Linked DNA regions of Homo sapiens: region 1 is linked to region 2. Evidence: promoter capture Hi-C in 16 types of primary human blood cells and fetal thymus (Javierre and others, 2016). All regions are on one chromosome and are shown on one strand. The core of a region is centred on a gene start or on the middle of the fragment in contact, and the rest is flanking DNA. Distances in the headings are between cores, read along the strand shown. Region 1 has its middle 190 kb from the start of TMEM72. Region 2 holds the start of ZNF32-AS2 (ZNF32 antisense RNA 2).

Region 1 (5,308 bases), core at 2,551-5,050, 1.1 Mb before region 2:
AGCTGAACTCTCCCAACAGCCTGGAGAAACGGAAAAGAAATTCTACCTCCAGAAAGGAATGCAGCTTGCTGATACCTTGGTTCTAGTTTGGTGAGTCCTGTGCTGGACTCTCATCTGTACAGAACTGTAATATAATTAATGTATATTTTAATAATGCACATTAATTTAGTTTAATACTAGTAAATTTTTGGTGATTTCTTATGACAGCAACAGAAAACTAATACCTTATCCAAAAATAGAAGATGTTCCCTGAGGAAGCAGGGAGTTCTGAGGAAGAGAATTAACATTTGGATATCTCCTATGATCCATACACTATTTTATTTTATTTTTTAAAACTCTAAATAACTCAGTGAGCCATGCATTATTGTTCCCATTTATGAATGTAAAGACAGGTTCAGAGTGGAAAACTAGGAAATAACACAACACTAAAACCGGGTGTTCCTGACTCCAAAGTTCATGGTGTGACCAGTTTATCGCTCTATTTCTCCCATGCTTGAAATATTTAGGGGGCTTAATAATTTAACTCAGAACCTTTGAGGTTCGCTAAACCTGGAAGAGCTCCAGGTGGGGAGGGATAGGTGACTGCATTTTTCCAATTGTATCTCTTGGCCTGATTGGATCATTGGAGTCCTTACTTATTCTTACAGCTGGCCCATATTACCTTTTTACCTGTAAGCAAGCCCACACCTGGGATTTTCTAAAAATAGCTGAGGAAGACTGGTTCATTAAAATGTCTTTCCAAAACACTAAAAGACAACCCAGGGGATAAATACAAACCACAGGAGAAATGCGGGTATTTCTCCTGGAAAGCCAAACATTTGGTTTCTACTAGATACAGTTCATGCCCCTACCGCTGCTGTCCCAAGAGAGGCCTGCTCTCTCCCCTCAGTGACAGGCCTTGTGTCTTGGTTTATGTCCTAATACATGGTCTAATTCACATAATAAAACTCGGGAGCAGCTGAAGAGGGATCTTAACTTTTTCCTTGAAAATAATAGAAGACAGATCCCATCTCTCACCTCTTGATTATCTGTCCTAAGACTTTTTTTTTTTTTTCTTTCCTGGCTGGGCACACTGTCTCATGCCTGTAATGCTAGCACTTTGAGAGGCTGAAGCAAGAGGATCATCCCAGGCCAGGAGTTTCAGACTAACAGTTTCAGACCAGCTTGAGAAACATAGTAAGAGCCTGTTTCTACAAAAAATTAAATAATCAGCCAGGTGTGGTGGTGTGTGCCTATAGTCCCAGCTACTTGGGTGGCTGAGGCAAGAGAATCCCTTGAGCCCAGGAGGTCGAGGCTGCAGTGAGCCATGATCATGCCACTGCACTCCAGCCTGGGCAACAGAGTCACTCTGTTTCTAAACAACAAAAGAAATACATTTTTTTCCTAAATGAATGATTTCAGGTGTCATTTCATCCTTTGATTTAGATCCTGCTATTATATAAAATGCTGATCTTGTTTCATACACATCCACCCAAAATATTTATACAAAGTTTCCCAAAGTATGATATTTGTGTCCCTAGAAAGCCTCAAGATGATTTAAAATGGTATACAAATCCATACTTTTATTTTAATAATTATGTCATTATTTAAAATGTATAGTTATTTTAATATGCGTGATAAAATTGTAACTAGTGCCTAAAATGATAATTTAACTGACTTGAATAACTTTTAAAAGGAGTTTAATTTAAATAAAAACGACTTTTGCATTCATCCATGAAGAAGTGACTCTTATGAAGGTAATGACAGTAAAATAACAACAACAATAACAACTAGAAAACTGGGCAAAATAGATGAAACATCTGCTTTCAAACACTGGGCAATAGACAGGACCAGACTATGACATGTGAGTAAATGGAAGCAAAGGAGGTAATCCCATGGTCACCCTGCTATTCTACCTGGGAGTAAGTTCTGGACCACGACACAGGGAGCAGAAACTCAAACAGAGCCTGGGATCTCTCTGAGTTCACATGTCATAGATCAGAGTTCAAGAAGGATGAGGCAGTTAGAATTGGTGGGACAAAGTACCATAAAGTAAGGACTTAATTACACAGTGGAAAAGCTCCAAAAAGCTGAATTGAGTCTTTGGCTGAATACTAATCTTTTTTTTTTTTTTTGAGACAGGGTGTCACTGTCACCCAGGCTGGAGTGCAGTGACACAATCTCAGCTCACTGTAACCTCTGCCTCCCAGGCTCAAGTGATCCGTCCACCTCAGCCTCCCAAGCAGCTCAGACTACAGGCATGTGCAACTACCCTTGGCTAATTTCTAAATTTTTATAGAGATTGGATCTTCATATATTGCCCAGGTTGGTATCAAACTCCTGGGTTCAAGCAATCCTCCTGCCTCAGCCTACCAAAGTGCTGGGATTACAGGCATAAGCCAGTGTGCCCAGCCTGAATACCAATTTTAATATGCATATGGCAAAACTTTACAAGACCAGACAAAGAACACTGCTAGGAAAATAACATAGACAGTGGACCTGTAAGATGAACAATTCCTAAATTTTGCACAGTTTGAAATCATTCAATATTTCACTATCCAGTGTGAAAGAGACTGGTTGGATACAGGGGGCATTTAGTGATGATCCCAGAAACATCATCCCATAGTAGTGGGAATAAAGTAGCCCAAGACCTGCCCTAGAAAAGGTTAAAAATAAGACTCGAAAGGATTAAGCTACACTGTAAGTAGTTTACTGCCTTACAGAAAAAAGTAACACTCATTAGAGGAATACAACAAGATCCAGAGAACTAAAAAACAAAACCTACTATGTCTGATACTCAATAAAAAATTGCCAGATATATATAGAAACAGAAAATGTGGCCCATAACTAGAAGAAAAATCTATCTATCTGCCTACCTATCTATCTATCTACCTATCTATCTGTATCTATCTGTCTTATCTATCTTTCATGAGAAATGGTGACAGACATTGCAGAATATAATATCAGTAGATTTGAAAACAAACAACGTAAAACTACATACTGAATCATACAGAGGTTATAAATACTGATAAATTACTGATAAATAAAAGAGATTCCATGAGCTGTGGTATCAAGCAGTCTAACGTATAGTAGGAATCATAAAAGGGGAAGAGGTAGAGGGAGGAACAGAAAGATATTTGAAAATATAAATATAAAAATATAAATAAAATATAAATTTTGCAAATTTATGAAAACCATTTCATAAATTTGCAAAATTATGAAAACCATTTATCAGAGATCTAATAAAATCTATGAACCCTAAACAGGACATACATAAAGAAAATAACACCAAAGCACATCATAATCAAATTGCACATAACTAAGTATAAAGAGAAATTCCTAAGAGCAGCTAGCAAGAAAAAAGACATTATATGCACAAGACCAACATACAAATAGCATATTTCTAGTCAGAAGTTATATAAGCCAAAATACAATGAAGCAACATTTTTAGTGTACTGAAAGTAAAATAGAACTGTTAATCTAGAATACTATACCCAGTATATATATATTTCAAGTGTAAATGTGAAATATAAACATTTCCAGATAAAAAATTGCTGGGAGGAATTATTGCCAATAGACCTGCACTTCAAGAAATGTTAAAGAAAGTTAATTAGGCAAAGGAAAATGATATCAGATAAAAACTTGGATCTATACAAAGAAATAAAGAGCATTAGGAATAATAACTATGTAGGTAAATATAAAAGACTTTATTCTTATTGTTAAAGCTTCTTTTGAAAATTTACTGTTTAAAGCAAAAAATAAGAAGATGAGAATGTATGGTGGGGTTTATAATATATGTGAAAGTGAATGATATAAAAGCAATAGCACAAAGGATAGGAGAAGTGGAAGTATACCGTTATAAGATTGTTACATTATATGTGAAAAAATATGTATGATATTATTTGAAGGAAAGCTTCAGTAAGTTAAAGATGTATATTGCAAAACCTAGAGCAGCTATTAAGAAAATTAAAAGATGGTATAGTTAATTAGGCAATGATAGAAATACAACTGAATCTTGAAAACTATTCAATTAATCCAGAAGAAAGCAAAAAAAAAAAAAAAAAGAAAAAAAAGAACAAAGAAGAAAACAAATAGAAACAAAATAGCAGATTCAATCTAGTAATGTCTATAATAATAATTGTTATTACCATTATTATTTTAATGTAATGCCATTAGATGTAACCGGTCTGAAAACTCAGTAACAGGCAGAGATTATCAAATCAATTTACATAAAAATATTAAATTGGTGATACACAGGTGAGAAGATAAGGCAAAACTCATAAAGATAATATAATAACTAAGAATCTGACAAACACTGTTTAAGTAAAATATAATAACTATAGCACTAATTTAATTAAAAATGCACACACAGTGTTGGAGATTGAGGTTGAGAGTGTATGAGGGTTCAGTTCTCAAATAATATAGGGATAAAAATCATTACATTCAATTCAAATCTCATTTTATAAATGGCTATTTTCTGTAATGTCCTCCTCAAAAGGCTAGGAGTGGATCTAAGTAACCTATGTATTGTTGATAAACCTTCTGATTTAATTATTTGTAAATTATATATGGTTTCTTTTGAATATATTGATAATGTTAGCCAATACTACAAAATGGAGAAATAATGTCTATAATTTTACTATTTGCTATGTTTAAGACTTTTAATAGAAACATAAGTAATATTCCTGCATATTCTGTCTTATTAGATGTTTCAGATATGGAAACTGAGGTTCAGGTTGATTGAATGCCTGATTCCTGTTTTTATAGTGCTCACACGGCATAAATGAAGTCATATATCTTTACTTCTAGATTGCAAATGCTGTCAAATTTCCTTCCCCACCCCCAGTTCTGCTAGGCAAGGATTCATAATGAGTGTCCAGGCTCTCCTTAGCTTTCCTTCTTTTAGTGGTGTAAATATTTTAGATTTTTCTTTCCAGTTTTAGTATTTCCAGGCCAGCAGGTCCTCATCTCTTCAGCACCTCATTAAGCCACACTCTTGTTCCCCTGGCATTCTGCTTCCCCAAATCCAGCGTAGCAGCATGAAGACCTATGGAATCACCCCCGTGCCTTCCTTCCTGTGTCCCTGTTTGTAGGGGGGTGTGAATCAGATGGTCTGGATTCAGAGCTGGTCTGGCCAGGTACTAACTACAAAACTTGAGGAAGTTACAGAACTACTCCAAGTCTGAACTTGTTCAGCAATAAAGGACATTACAATAGTGGAGGTCTCCCACAGCGGGAATTCATTGCTGTCGTGTAAAGCTCTTAGCAGAGTATCTAGAATAAGACACACACCCTAAAAGTAGCTATTGTTTTTGTTACTGTTATTCTC
Region 2 (4,981 bases), core at 1,468-3,967:
GGAGGCCAGCCGCGAGCGGAGAGGTCGGCGGTCCGCAGAGCAGGGTCCCGTGGACCGGAGAGCGGGATGCCGAGGTTCAGGACGCAGGGCGGGCCCGGTGCCCGGGGCCCGGGGCCTGAGGCGGGAGGGCAGCGTCTGCGGAGAGGAGCAGGGCCCATGGCGTCGGGGCGTGGGAGGGGGAGGCCGCGGCAGGCTCACCCGGCCTCCGTGCGGGCTTCAGCGAGTGCGGGAAGCCGGTGCCGGCCTTCCGGGGTGGGAGGAGAGGCAGCCCCTGCGGGGGAGAGTAGGAAGCCAGGCAGCGTGTGGGAAACCACGCTACCCACAAGCTCCTAAACCTGAAACTGGCCCCAGGACATTTTCCAGACCGCCAAGTGTACCCCTCTTCTCATCCGCCCTCCAGAGGACGCCGGATTTTAGATCTTAAGTCTGGTGGTCTCGTCTGATACTCCTCTTGTTTGGTTCTTTCCTTCTCATTGTCCTACCTGATAGGACAGTGTTAGTAACCTGTTTAATAAGTGGGGAAGCAGAGTCAGGGCTGCTGGGTTACTCGCCCAAGATCATATCCTGGGGGAGCCACGGCAAGAAGCCAAGACTCACGGACTACTTCTAAGCTTTTTCCAAAGGATATAGTAGCCTTTCTAATAGGAAAATCAATGTTTTTAATTATAAAGCCACTTTTACAAAATCTTGGGGAAACTGCTTCCTCAGACCTGTGATCTAGGGAGAAAAATATGACAATTTCTCCCTTACTAATCACGGAGGTCCCTGATAGGCGGCGGAGTTGTAACTTGAAGACCTCACAGCAGGTGGAGAGGCAGAGCTGTGAATTCTACTCTAATTTCTGGAATCCCCGGCGACAGAGTCCAACCCCAGGCAGCAGGCGCCATGTACCCCAGGGACTTTTAATGTGTGTGCAGCTGTTGAGCAAGAATACCTTGAACTTCCAAATGATGTGCTGGCATGCTGGTAGGGAATTCCTTTGCAGCTTGTGTTCCAAGTTGGAAGTGAGTCCTCCAAATAAAAATTTAAATGATTCTCCTGGTCATCACAGCATGTAGCAGAATGTGCAGTTGTCAAGAAGAACCAGGTGCTTAGGTTGACAAAACAAAGAATGGTAGCATCATACTATTATTTCATTAAATCAGAAGGCCAGCATTTTGATAGGACAAATTAGAGGGAAACAAGGAGTATGCATTGAACCACTGCATTTCTTAAAAGTATAAGAATTCAGTAATTAGGATCCTGAAGTAAGAAGAAATATTTTTTTTAAAAAATAGATCATGTGGGCCAGGTGTAGTAGCTCATGCCTACATGTCTTGGGAGGCCGAGGCAGGAGGGTCACTTCAGGCCAAGAGTTGGAGACCAGCCTGGGCAGGATAATGAGACCCGATCTCTACAAAAAAAAGTTAAAATAATTTTTAAAAATTAGCCAGGCTTGGTGGTGCTTACCTGTAGTCCTAGTTATTTGGGAGGCTGAAGTGGGAGGATCCGTTGAGTCCAGGAGTTCAAAGTCACAGCAAGCTGTAATTGAGTCACTGTACTCCAGCCTGGGCAACAGAGCAAAATCTTGACTCAGAATTTTAAAAAAATTAAAAAATAATTTAGAGCACATACAAGAGGATTCCTAGGATCTGAAAGAGCACTTCAATCTGGTCAAACTCTCTTCCTTTCTGTTCAATTTTATAAGCATTCTGACCAGCTCTTTAGTGATTAGGAACTAGACAACTGTCTAATGTAAGAGCATACATTTTGGATCCAGAAAGTCTTGGATTTGAACCTTTGCTCCACTTTGACTCCTTATTTTCTGTGGGTTTCTGGGCAAGTTACTTAACCTAGTTGGAGTGCCTTGGGCTTGGAGTCCAGAGTAGGTCTTTCTTTTCCAAGAATTGACAAGTGTTTACACTTGGTCAGAACTGGTATTCTTGTATCTTCAAGAGCAAGAGAAAGGCGAGTCTGGGTCTGGAGCCTCCTAAGAATTGTTCAGTGGTAACAAATGGACTCTCTTGTTAAGTCTTTGTAACTACAGATAACTGGAGAGCTGATTGGCTCCAACCAATCATGAAGGCTGAAATGTTGTTTTCTTAGATTCTGAATTCCTCTGGGGCTTGGAGGGAAGAAAGTAGTAGGTGGTTAGGTGGGGAACCAAAATGGAAGATCCCAATTACATGCCAAGACCAAAGTGTAAACAGGAGTGACTATTAACTTGGGATTGGCAGGAAGAGATATATGTTTATGTGTTCTCTGCTTTCCCACATCCTGCTTCCTCCTAGACTCATTTGTGTGTGGTCCTGGTACCTTTGGGCCCATTTTGCAGTGATATTTTAGTAACTGACATTATGTCAAACAATCTAGGTTTCTTACATTCACTTATGTCTCAACAACTGTTGACTTTTTCCTTCTCACATATCAATTATTCTGCCCTTTCCTGTTTGTTTCTGTTTGTTTTTCTCCCTCAGGTGCTCAGGAACAGCCCATGGAAGAATCATATGAAGAGGTGGTGACTGAGGTCGTAAGCAGGAGTGGACATGTTTGGATTTCCAACAGCTACCCTGCTGGACTGTCATGGAAGATATGCCCAGAATGTAGCGTTCTTCAGTGAGTGAGTCAGTTGATGGCTGGATGCGCTCAGCTCACAGATATTCAGTGTCCCTGTTCTCAGCACTGGTCGGCAGTCTGAGGAAGCAGAGGAGACCTTGCTTTGGTAGAGCTTGCTGTTCCTAGGGTTATAAGAAAAGCCTGTGAGCTGGAGTTAGAAGTAATAGTAGAAACAGAGCAAGAGAACCATCTTGATATGGAGGTAGCGTTGAAGTAGTCTCTGAGAATGAATGAGCAGCTTAAATCTCAGCACTGTCTCTGAATAAGGCAAGGGAACAAGGAGAAGATTACCCTGGAGTGACAGACACCAAGAAAACTGTTAATGGTGATGAATGGACCCATATTTAAAGTGCACCAGGAGGCTCAGATGCAGGGCAGTATTCGGAAAAAAAAAAGTCAATATCTGCATAGAGAATAACTTCCAAACCAAAATTGATTTCAGTTTTGCCATAGCTTAGTAGACTGAAAATAGCAAGGATTTTAATGGGAAAAATTCCTTGGATCAGATTCTATAATTGCCATGGCTAGATCTGCAGTATCAGACAGGTTATTTAACTTCCTTAAGCTCCAGGTTCGTCTGTAAAATAGGACAATAAGTTCTATCTTGTAGGGTTGCAGGGATTAGCAATGATAGATGTAAAGTACCCAGGATTGTGCTACATATTTTCTGAGGTCATGGTGCTTATTCTATTGTCAGAACAGATTGGACAGAGGTGGATTTCTGAAGAAGCAAATGCAGCTTCAGTTTTAGGACCCCTCACTTGGATTGGTCTCTCCAAGACCCTGTGCTTAATTTTATACATTTTCTTAAAAGGGTGCCTCTAAAATGGGAAAGTTTTAGGCCTTATATAGCCTGGATCCACACCTGTTTTGGAGTCAGATAAAAGTTGGGTATGGGGCTCTGTGTGATTCTGTATAGTTTTCTAAATTTTCTGAGCCTGTTTTCTGACCTGTAAAATAGAGAAAACCATGTCTATCTTACAAGGTTATTTGTTGGCCTAAATTAAATTTAGAGGCAGTACACTGCTATGGAGAATGCCTATTTGAGTCAGCTCTAACTTACCTAGCTCTGTGACCTTTGACAGGCTCCCTTTGCTCCCATTATCTGTATCACTCTCATGGCATTGTTTTCAGGATTGCATTGTCTATGCAAAGAATAAGGCCTGGCACATCATAAGCACTCAAAGTATTATGTTTCTTTTTCCCTATTCTAACTCAGCATTATTGGTGCTTCTTATATGACTTCCCTCTCATTTTATCAGATGTGATGACTGAAGCCCACCACAAATATGACCACTCTGAGGCTACAGGATCCTCAAGCTGGGATATCCAAAATTCTTTCAGAAGAGAGAAGCTGGAACAAAAATCCCCAGATTCGAAGACACTACAGGAAGATTCACCTGGAGTGAGACAAAGGGTCTATGAGTGCCAGGAGTGTGGAAAATCCTTCCGGCAAAAAGGTAGTCTAACGTTACATGAGAGAATCCACACTGGTCAAAAGCCTTTTGAGTGCACCCACTGTGGAAAAAGCTTCAGGGCCAAAGGCAATCTTGTTACACATCAACGGATACACACGGGAGAGAAGCCTTATCAGTGCAAGGAGTGTGGGAAAAGCTTCAGTCAACGAGGTAGTCTCGCTGTCCACGAGAGACTCCACACTGGACAGAAACCCTACGAGTGTGCTATTTGTCAGAGAAGCTTCAGGAATCAGAGTAACCTTGCTGTTCACAGGAGAGTTCACAGTGGTGAGAAGCCCTATAGATGTGATCAGTGTGGAAAAGCCTTCAGTCAGAAAGGAAGCTTAATTGTTCACATCAGAGTCCACACAGGCCTGAAGCCCTATGCCTGTACCCAGTGCAGGAAGAGTTTCCACACCAGGGGGAATTGTATTCTGCATGGCAAAATCCACACAGGAGAGACACCCTATCTGTGCGGCCAGTGTGGAAAAAGCTTCACCCAGAGAGGGAGTCTGGCTGTGCACCAGCGAAGCTGCTCACAGAGGCTCACCCTTTGACCACTTTCCTGAAGAGAAGTTCTCTTTATGAATTAAGAGTACAAAATCCTCTGAGATGAAGCAACCTATCCAGTTCTATGGAATGAATGGAGAATCTTTCAGAAAGACCATCATTGGGTAGGGCAAACTGATTTTTTTCCTTTCCCCCAAAAGAGTATGAAAAATAAATGTCTTGTTTATTATCATTATCATGTATGTTTTATAATTTCTGTCACTTTATTCTGACCTGATTTTTCAAGGTACCCCCATTAATCTGGTGCCACACTAGAGATTGTTCTGTGTATACCCAATACAGATTTTAAATTTGTAGTTGACACCATCAGGCTTTTATAAATGTAAAAAATCAGCCCCTCATCAATCCCAAGTTATTTT

The links. The method cuts DNA at HindIII sites, captures the fragments that hold promoters and counts their contacts. A CHiCAGO score of 5 or more calls a contact.
Region 1: a fragment that was not itself captured here is called in contact with the fragment with the promoter of ZNF32-AS2 in region 2 in 1 of 17 cell types (M1 macrophages); the score reaches 6.5 in M1 macrophages.

What each region holds. Positions count from the first base shown.
Region 1 is chr10:44,716,480-44,721,787 of GRCh38, reverse strand. No RefSeq gene overlaps it. Among named protein-coding and RNA genes, the nearest start is that of TMEM72, 190 kb to the left of the region's middle. The HindIII fragment of the contact is 188 bases long and covers 3,707-3,894 here.
Region 2 is chr10:43,643,678-43,648,658 of GRCh38, reverse strand. It overlaps ZNF32-AS2 (ZNF32 antisense RNA 2), which reads right to left and starts at 2,717. Exons shown (of 3, transcript NR_047558.1): 1 at 2,362-2,717; 2 at 1,450-1,547; 3 at 640-1,090. ZNF32 (zinc finger protein 32) reads left to right here. Exons shown (of 3, transcript NM_006973.3): 2 at 2,457-2,595; 3 at 3,858-4,797. The coding sequence starts at 2,526. The coding sequence ends at 4,609. The region is part of intron 1 of ZNF32-AS3 (ZNF32 antisense RNA 3); the gene reads right to left. It overlaps ZNF32-AS1 (ZNF32 antisense RNA 1), which reads right to left and starts at 4,787. Exons shown (of 2, transcript NR_047557.1): 1 at 4,552-4,787; 2 at 3,612-3,809. RefSeq lists a silencer at 1-272 and an enhancer at 1,824-3,023. The HindIII fragment of the contact is 3,514 bases long and covers 614-4,127 here.